3 separate regions of the Homo sapiens genome follow, and regions 2 and 3 are each linked to region 1. The links are contacts of gene promoters, found by promoter capture Hi-C in blood cells and fetal thymus (Javierre and others, 2016). All regions are on one chromosome and are shown on one strand. The core of a region is centred on a gene start or on the middle of the fragment in contact, and the rest is flanking DNA. Distances in the headings are between cores, read along the strand shown. Region 1 holds the start of TTYH3 (tweety family member 3). Region 2 holds the start of LOC107986759 (a long non-coding RNA gene). Region 3 overlaps IQCE (IQ motif containing E).

Region 1 (2,859 bases), core at 213-2,712:
CTGGGGGGCCTGGGTGCAAGTGAGCGCGAGGCTGGGAGCAGTGGGCTCCCAGGTGCCCTGCTCCTCCACTTCCGCCTCCCTCCTCTGGATGCGGGAGGCCACAGACAACGCAGTTCTGAAGAGTCCAGGTGCTAGGCTGCCCGCGGAATACCGGATTCCCAAGCCATTTTGATAAGCAAAGCCATCCCCACCCCACCATGGGGCTCTGCCATGATCCGTCCAGAGAGAAACTCCGGGTGACCAGGGACCCTGGTCACGGGGCTTCTGGAATCCGGATCTCTAGGCAGGAAGGAAATGCCCACAGCTTGGTCCCCTGCCCCGCACTCAAATGACAGTAGCTTGGCGATGGGGGTGGTGCTGGGGCCTGGCATGATGCCAGGCTAAGGGCTCCCCTGGGAGAGGGCTGCAAAGGGCCCCCAGCCGCCCCCCAGGTCTGCCTGGGCTCAGCCGCTTCCAGCCTCCCTGCCTGAGGCCCACGGTGCTTCCTGGCCGCCGGGCCTCCCTCCCCCGGGGGCTACAGGCAGCCTGGTCTCCCACGGCCACACACGGCACCCTGTGTACATCCCACAGCCTGACCGCCAAGCAGGGGGTCATTACCGGCCACAGAGGGCTGGCGGCGGCCCAGGCCATTCACCCACTGGAAGCCTGGCAGTGGGATTCCCCAGTCGGGGGTGAGTGGGCGAGGAGTCTCTGCCTGCCTGCACCCAATGTGCTCAGGCACCCGCTCTGATCTCAGAGCCTGGGGGTCATCTGGGGAGGGGTCTCTGCTGGGACACAGCACCAGGCCGCCAACAGTGATGGTGGAGAGGCCCTCCACTGGCCAAGGGGGCTCACGGAGTGGGGAGAGGCAGCTCCATGAAACCCAGGGGCCTTAGTGACACCAGAAGGGAAGGCCAGAATCGGGAGGGGGGCCGTGGACCCTCACTGGGGGTTGGAGGGTATTTAGACCTTTGAGGAGGAGGCCATGACCCTGGAAGAAAGGGTCCTAGGACTCAGAAGGGACCCTCGAGAAGGAAGGAGGCCGGTACCTGCGAGGAGGAGGTGGCCGTGACCCTGGAGGGGGGGATGAGGGGTCTTTAGGCCCTCGGGGATGGGGGCCGTGACCCTGGGAGAGGAGGGGGCCGTGACCTGGGGTCCCTGACCCCGCGACCCCGAGAGGCCCATGTCACCTGCTGGTAGTCGGTGTCCTCGGGCCGGAACTGGCTGCTAGTGGCCTCCCAGCTCAGGTCGAAGTGGGGCAGCCGGTGCAGGAGGCTCACCCACCAGGGCGCCGCGTAGCTGACCCCGGCCATGGCGGGGCCCGGCCGCCTCCGGATGCGCGCGGCCTGCGCGGGGCTCCCTTGCTGGCCCGGGGCGCGGGCTTCAGGGACCCGTCGACCCCCGCCTGGCCGCCCGCATCATCCGCGCGCTCCTGGGCCCGGCCCGGCCCGGCTCGGCCCGGCTCGGCTGCGCTCGGCTCCGCTCGGCCGCCCGCGCCCGCCGCCTCTTTGTTCGCCGCCGCCGCCGCCGCCCCCTCCGCACCCCCGCCCGTCCGCCCGCCGGCCCCGCCCCCGAGCCTCCATTGGCCCGCCTCCCGCCAGCCCAGCCCCCGCGCGCCCCGCCCTCTGTCCCGCCTCTTACCCACCATTGGTCTATCCCCCGCCGATCCCGCCCCACAGCGTGCCCCGCCCACTCGCTCCTGAACCTCTATTGGTCCTTTTACCTGATGGTTTTGCCCCTCCACTCGCATCCCCGCCCATTACCCAATGGCCCCGCCCCTCCACGTGTCCCCGCCCTTCGGCCCCGCCTCTGTACCGTCATTAGTCCGCCGGCAGAAGCTCCGCCTACTTCCTCGCCTTCTTGGAGGGACGCCTGGCCCCTAAGGCGCTGGAAGACCGACCCTCAGCGCTGTAAGACCCGGGCCAGCCAGTCTTTCCACGTGGCCGTGGGGGCTGGAACCCTGGCTGCATATGCAGCTGCGCTTCATTCCATGAATTCGCTCTTCGTTTGGATCTTTGCATGTTTCTTATTTGACTCGAGGGTCCGGCCTGGTGGGCTGGGCTGGTCTTGGCCTCCCCATTGCACACACAACAGCCCACAGCCCGCAGCGCCCAGCAAGGCACCGAGTGGCCTATCTGTACAATGGACATGATCTGGATTCAGGGCCTGGCTGGGGCACCTAGAGCTGTGTGATCTGGGGCAAGTTACTTAACCACTCTGTGCATCGGTGTCCTTGTCTGTAAAAGGGGATGATAAAGCTACGAGTGTTGGCAGGGCGTGGTGGTGGTTCATGCCTGTAATCCCAGCACTTTGGGAGGCCGAGGCAGGCGGATCACCTGAGGTCAGGAGTTCGAGACCAGCCTGGCCAAAATGGTGAAACCCCGTCTCTACTAAAAATACAAAAATTAGCCAGGCGTGGTGGCGGGCGCCTGTAATCCCAGTTACTCTGGAAGCTGAGGGAGGAGAATTGCTTGGACCTGCGAGATGGAGGTTGCGGTGAGTGGAGATTGCGCCACTGCACTCCAACCTGGGCAACAGAGTGAGACTCCATCTCAAAAATAAAAAAAATTTTTTTTAAAAAGGTACGAGTGTTAAGTGGATCCGCAGGTAGATTCAGTCCCCATCCGGCCTTCCCTCTGGGGAAGGTTGAGTCTTTTGTCAAGACCTAAGATGAAGACGGTGCCCTGTTCTGGTGTCCTGGGGCCTAAAAATTCAGGCACCTGCCAGAGAGGGCCCATCATGGGCTTTGGAGCCACACAGCCAAATTTCCTAACAGGGCCTCCCCATGCCTGTGCCTCCTCCTTTGCTAAAGGGGAGATGGGAGCTGCCAGAGCCAGGAGGATGGACATAGTGCGTGCTTGGGCCCAGGTGCACGCCTCC
Region 2 (2,859 bases), core at 180-2,679, 120 kb after region 1:
GTCCCTTATCTTCTCCCCGGTGGCTGACTCAGTAGGACCAGGGATCTCCGGGCAGGGCTGAGGGCCGCCCACCCCTAGGTCACCTCGGGGAGCCCACGTGCGTCTCCAGACCTCGGCCTTCCTGCATCTCAGTTCCATGCCCACTGCTTGTCCTGAGCTGGAGCTGGGTGGGAGCTGGCTCTGAGGGCTGTCCCCATATCTTAGAGATGGGGCTCGGCTCTGCCACCCTCCCTTGGCTCCCCACTGCCCAGTTGGGAGGGCTGGCTCTGCCCCTGGCGTCCTCAGGCCACCCCCTGGCCCACTCTGCCTGCCGAACCCCCCAGGCCCTGCCAGGCCCAGGATCCCCACACTCCAGCCGCCCCTCTGTGTCTGCCTGGAGTGCTCAGCGTCTCCACCCCTGTGGGAAGTCTCCTCGCTGCTCCCTCCTCCACTCTACCTGTTGTCTGTTCCTGGGTCCCGTCCAGCCCTCAGCACAGCCCGGCACCCACAGAGTACTCAGTCCAGATGCCGACGCAATGGAGCTGAGCTTCCTGGACTTGGCTCTTGCCAGAAGACTTGGAAGAAGGGACCTTGAAGAGCATCTAGGTCCAAGTCCCATTTCACAGATGGGAAGATGGAGGCCCCAGAAGGCCTCCCAGGCCCACATGGCCAGCAGCAGGTGTCTCCAGCCACCCTTGAAAGTGAACCCCTCAGGCTCACACCTCCGGGTGCCTCCCATATGCCAGGAAGTCCCAAAGTTCTGAGGCGCTGAGGCTCCAAGACTTCCCCTGGGCGGGGTCTTTGGTGGTGCCAGGGGGTGAAGGTGAACCTTCAGGCATGGCGGTCTTTTGGCCAGGCCTGCTTCTCCCTGCAACCCCTCGGAAAGCCCTGCCAGGCTGGGAAACTGAGCAAAAGCTGGACATGCCCAGGCCAAGGGGTGGGCAGCTGGCTGGCCTGCCTCAGCAGGGTGGGGCCTGGGGACCAGTCCAGGCCTGTCCCCAACAACCTGGCCTATGGCGTCTCTCTGGGTGGAGAGTCCCCTGTCCTGGCTGTGTCTCCAGCCTCAGGTGGGGTCCTAGCTGTTTCTTTCTGGTCTCAGCTGCGCCCCCCACTCCAGCCTCCACCCCACTCCCTGCAAACCGGCAGTCACTTGAGCCCTCCTCGGGGCTCTGAGCCCCCCTCGGGCAGATCTTCAGGCCTGGGGCATCCCCAGAGGCTGGGCTGTGCCCAGTGGTGGCCGCCCCTCCCTCCTGTCTCATCCCCACCTGCCATGGCTGTCACTCTATCTCAGCGACCCAGTTTTCCTCCTTGTCTCTGTTGGTGGGGCGGGCGGCCCTGGGGGGACAGTGTCCCCCTTTGTGGCGGGGCGACCGGTGGATCAGGTGTCTCTGGTGGGGCCGGCAGGCGCGTCTGCTGGCTCGGGCCAGGGGCCACGGCTTTCAGGTCTTCAATAGCTCAAGATTAGGTTCCGTCCCTGAGGGCCCCTGTTGTGTGGCCATTGTGATGGCCTGGGAAGCACAGCCTCCGGGGCCAGAGAGTGATGCGTCTCCCTACTCACGGGAGCCCTGGCCTGGGGGCTGGGGTCCCGGCCTCCTCCGGGCCGTTTGGGCACCCTGCAAGTCATGTAGAAGTGTGCACATACAGCCACAGCCAGCACAGGGTCTTGGGGAAGTGTGGACCCCGCCTGCCAGATGCTCCGCTTACTGCCTGGGCCACTGCTTGGAAAGAGGTACTGCTTCTTCACAACCCGATGAGCGGAGCACGGGCTGGATCTCAGATGTGTGCTGCCAGTCAGTGCACGACCTGCACGGATGTGCACAGCGGCCCTGACACTGCCCCGGCCCCTCCCACCTTTCTCGAGAGTTTCTTCAGCTTCGCCACTCCCCTCAGCTGCATCCTCCCACAGGCCCCCACTCAGATTGCAGGGCTGGTCCTCAGCCGCTGGCTGGCAGCTGACAAAACCACAGGCCAATCCCCGCTGGCAGGATGGGGACAGGCTGACAATTCCAGGTCCTAACTGCACGGTCTTGCATTTCCTTCTCTGAAGACTCAGGTGTGGAATGAGCGGGGCTGTGGGTGCAGCGTGGGCGAGACTCCTCTCAGCCTCCCTGGGCCTGATCAAGGTCACCGACCCCCAGCTGTAGTCCCCAAGACTGGCTCCTGATGGCTTTTGTGCCCCGCTCAGCAAAAGCCCAGCTGGGATCCTCTTGGTGGCCCAGACAGAGGTGACCACATAGTATATCGTCTTTCAAGGCTGGGAGGGAACTCTGTTAGTAATTACTCCTGGGGCATACCAGGGCTGTGGCAGGAAACGGAGTATGTCACCGACAGAGACGCAGATTCCCTGGCAGGATGCATGCCGGCCGGCACATGCCTCGGAGCGCGAGAGGGGCCTGTGATCGTGCGGTGCTTACGTGCTTCACGCGTGTGTGCGGAAGCACGGGTGAGCCCGTGGGGAGCATGGCGCGCTGCCACTCTGCACATGTGGGCTGGCCATGTGCAGGGACACGTGTGTCCCTGTGTGCACACACCCAGAGCCCGACCCGGCTGCCCCGAGATGGCTCCCTCCCCTTGTACAGCTGGAGACTCCGGAAGGAGGAGGCGGGTCGGGCTGGCCTCCTGCTTGATGGGGGTAAGACGAACAGGCCAAGGTGGGAGGCCAGGGCCAGGCCTCGCTCGGGCTGGGGCATGGCCCTAACACATGTTTTCTGCCCAGCGTAGTGGCGGCAACCTTGGACAGGAGGTTGGGCCCCATCAGGAAGGTTTTGCTTCAAGAAGTGGGGTCAGCTTCCCCAGTGTTTGCATTCATCCTAACATGTGACTGCCTCTTCCTCCAGGCAGCCTTCCGTGACTTCTGCTGTCATCCCAGTGGCCTCTGTC
Region 3 (2,859 bases), core at 163-2,662, 65 kb after region 1:
AGTGTCCCATATCCGAGATGCCTGGGACCAAGAGTGTTTCTGATTTGGGAATATTTGCATCCATATAATGAGGTATCTTGGGGATGGGACCCAAGTCTAAACACAAAATTCATTTATGTTTCATATATACATTATACCCATAGTGCAATGGTAATTTTATATTGTGTTTTTAATAACTTTGTGCATGAAACAAAGCTTGTGTGAAGTACTTAAGGGTGGAATTTCCCACTTGTGGCCTCATGAGGGTGCTCAAAAAGTTTCCATTTTTGGAGCATTTTGGATTTTGCATTAGAGACACACAACCCGTCGTGCCGTGGCCTGGGGAAGATGCTGCCATGCTTCCAACCTTAACTTCCTCATCACCTTGCACTAGACCGAGCAGATAAGGCTACCGCGGCCAGGTCTCCTCACTTCCCCTCCAGCAGAAACATTGAGCCCCAAGTTCTGCGCGGGGGGAATTTTCCCTGGGGCTTGGTTTGGATCCCTCCTCCTCCGGGGAACATCAGAGGAGCATCCCCTGCCCTCTGTGACATGGAGGGAAAATCCTTAACTTTGCGAACAGAGGTCCCTGGAGGGAGACAGTGGAGCTGAGGCTCCCCCTTGAGTCCACAGAGCAAACGTGGAATTGAGATCTGCTGGTGCCGGGTTCGTTCTGCTGGCTGCAGGTTTGCTAGATCTGCGTCTCCAGTAAGAAAAGCTTTTTTCGCTCATACACGAGAAGAGCAATTGGCACACTTCCTTTTCTACCCAGCACAGCTTGCCAAACAAACCCAAAGCCCAGTCCGGGGCCATAGTGTGCCACTGGGCCATCGGACACCACTCCTGCCCCTCTCCTTTCCGGGCTGGGAGGCCAGGCAGCAGTTCAGCTTGGGATGGCGGCTGCCCAGGTCTGCTTTCTCCCATCGGGTCCTTCCGACGGCATTAGCAGGGGCTCTCCTCCTCCCCTCAAGTGTCAGGATGAGGGCGTGGGGTGCAGGGCAAAACCAGCTGCAGGCCAGGGACTAGCAATCTGTCTCACATGAGCCCTGCTCAGGATTCACGTCCAGATAAAAGTTTTAAAGTTATCACCACAGGTATTTAAACCTAAGGGCTGGAAACTTTTCAAACACCAAGGAGCATTCGGAATATGCATTCCAGCTCTCGACACAGTATTGTGGAGAACGGCCTATTTTACGCTTCCGAGTGCAGTCTGCAAGGGCAGCGCAACCAGCCCGAGGTCGCACGGCTGACACCCAGCGGCACTCACCGTCTCCACATCAGAGTCAAAGGTGACTGCAGACAGACTGTCATCTCCCTGGAGGAAGAGAGGCAAACACTGTAACTCGACGGCACCTGCTGGGCTTCCGACCATCACGTTTACAAAAGCGAAAACAGCCCGTCCACAGCTGCTGAAACAGAAACTCCAGAAATCCAGCTCTGAGGCCACTCAGAACACTCCAGCTGGGCAGCAGCCAGTTCCTCAGTCTCATCAGAAGGAATGGGTGGGTGGGGGGAACAAAACACAAAACGCCGCCCAGCAGGCGTGCAAATGTCTGCAAATCTAGTAACACTATTTCCCACAGAATTGTGTCTTGACAAAGAAAAACAAAACCAGTTCTTGCTGAAAGCATTTCATTTTTACATAAATGTTCTCACTCTTATTCATCTTTACATCAAAGCACAACGAATCTGTGACTGTCTCCTGGTAAGAACGGGTGAGAGTCATCTTTTAAAAAGCAAACTCGGCCTGGGCAACATGGTGAGACACTGTCTCTACAAAAAAAATCTTAAAAATTTAAAAAATAAGCCAGGCTGTGGTTGCACACACCTGTAGTCCCAGCTACTCGGGAGGCTAAGGTGGGAGGATCGCTTGAGCCTAGGAGGTCGAGGCTGCAGTGAGTCATAATCATGCCACTGCACTCCAGCCTGGGCAACAGAGCAAGACCCCAGCTGGGAAAAAAAAAAAAAAAAAAAACGAAAACCAACAAAAACCAAAACATATGCATTACAATGAGAAGGCATTTGGGCCTATAAAGGTTCTTGCCTTCTTATTCCAGTGACTTTGTCCTGGTCCAGGGAATGAAATAAGACTTGTACTGTCTGATTTCAGCACGAGGATGGCCAAAAAAAAAAAAAAAGGAAGCTTTTTGAAGACAAAAGTGTTTCTGTATTAACTCATTCACTCAAATTGAAATCCAAAAAGAGAAGCATAAAATGTTTAAAGTCCCTCGGAAGATCATATTGGTGCTTTCCAATGCGGACACTGGAAGTTAGAGCTGAATGCCCCATTATGAGCCAATAGTTCTACAGCTTGGGGTGGAGGTGATGACATTTGTGCTACCTGTCCCTGGTATAGCTGAGTCCACGCAGTATCATAATGGGATGCTACTGCGTTCTGAAAAGCAAACTTATTTTCTACAAGGCTAATAGTACATGAAGTGCCAATTTTGCTAGCAGTGTGAAACTGTATTAGAAATGCCTGGCTGCATGATAACATGGATAAGGTGCAACTAGACAGGCCAGGACACAAGTGCAATGTGACTGCATTTCGAGGGGCAAAGGAAAGACGGTGCATTCCAAATAAATGGAGCGTTTAAAAAAATCAGCCATTGACTGAAATTTTTTATATCATTTTTTATATCACCTATTTAAGGTGACCTTTTAAGACATAAACAGCATATGACAATTATAGAGAGAAGTTTTCCTTTTAGCAAAGTGTATTGAAATTATGCACAAAATTGAGGAAGGGCAGGCCGGGAACTGGACACACAGGTTAGCGGGGGATCAGAAAAGCCAAGTCAGCCCTGGGCATCACAAGGACGTGCCTGCAGAGAACAGAGGGGAAACTGCTGAAAACTGTCTAGAAAAGCAGCAGCAACT

The links. Contacts are between HindIII fragments. The CHiCAGO score rates a contact against its expected background, and 5 or more counts as called.
Region 2: a contact is called between a fragment that was not itself captured here and the fragment with the promoter of TTYH3 in region 1, in 4 of 17 cell types (neutrophils, monocytes, M0 macrophages and 1 more). The highest score is 9.8, in neutrophils.
Region 3: a contact is called between a fragment that was not itself captured here and the fragment with the promoter of TTYH3 in region 1, in 4 of 17 cell types (monocytes, M1 macrophages, M0 macrophages and 1 more). The highest score is 9.5, in monocytes.

The regions. Positions count from the first base shown.
Region 1 is chr7:2,630,589-2,633,447 of GRCh38, reverse strand. TTYH3 (tweety family member 3) reads right to left here and starts at 1,462. Exons shown (of 14, transcript NM_025250.3): 1 at 1,170-1,462. The coding sequence starts at 1,292. RefSeq lists enhancers at 1-61, 1-573, 1,306-2,037 and a silencer at 1,112-1,521. The HindIII fragment of the contact is 11,109 bases long and covers 1-2,859 here.
Region 2 is chr7:2,508,075-2,510,933 of GRCh38, reverse strand. It overlaps LOC107986759 (a long non-coding RNA gene), which reads left to right and starts at 1,863. Exons shown (of 3, transcript XR_001745066.2): 1 at 1,863-2,204; 2 at 2,817-2,859. RefSeq lists a silencer at 2,645-2,798 and enhancers at 2,444-2,859, 2,318-2,859. The HindIII fragment of the contact is 4,512 bases long and covers 1-2,859 here.
Region 3 is chr7:2,565,551-2,568,409 of GRCh38, reverse strand. IQCE (IQ motif containing E) reads right to left here. Exons shown (of 22, transcript NM_152558.5): 2 at 1,247-1,294. Among named protein-coding and RNA genes, the nearest start is that of IQCE, 8.0 kb to the right of the region's middle. RefSeq lists enhancers at 363-964, 979-1,148, 1,349-1,398, 965-1,567, 1,679-1,858. The HindIII fragment of the contact is 1,425 bases long and covers 700-2,124 here.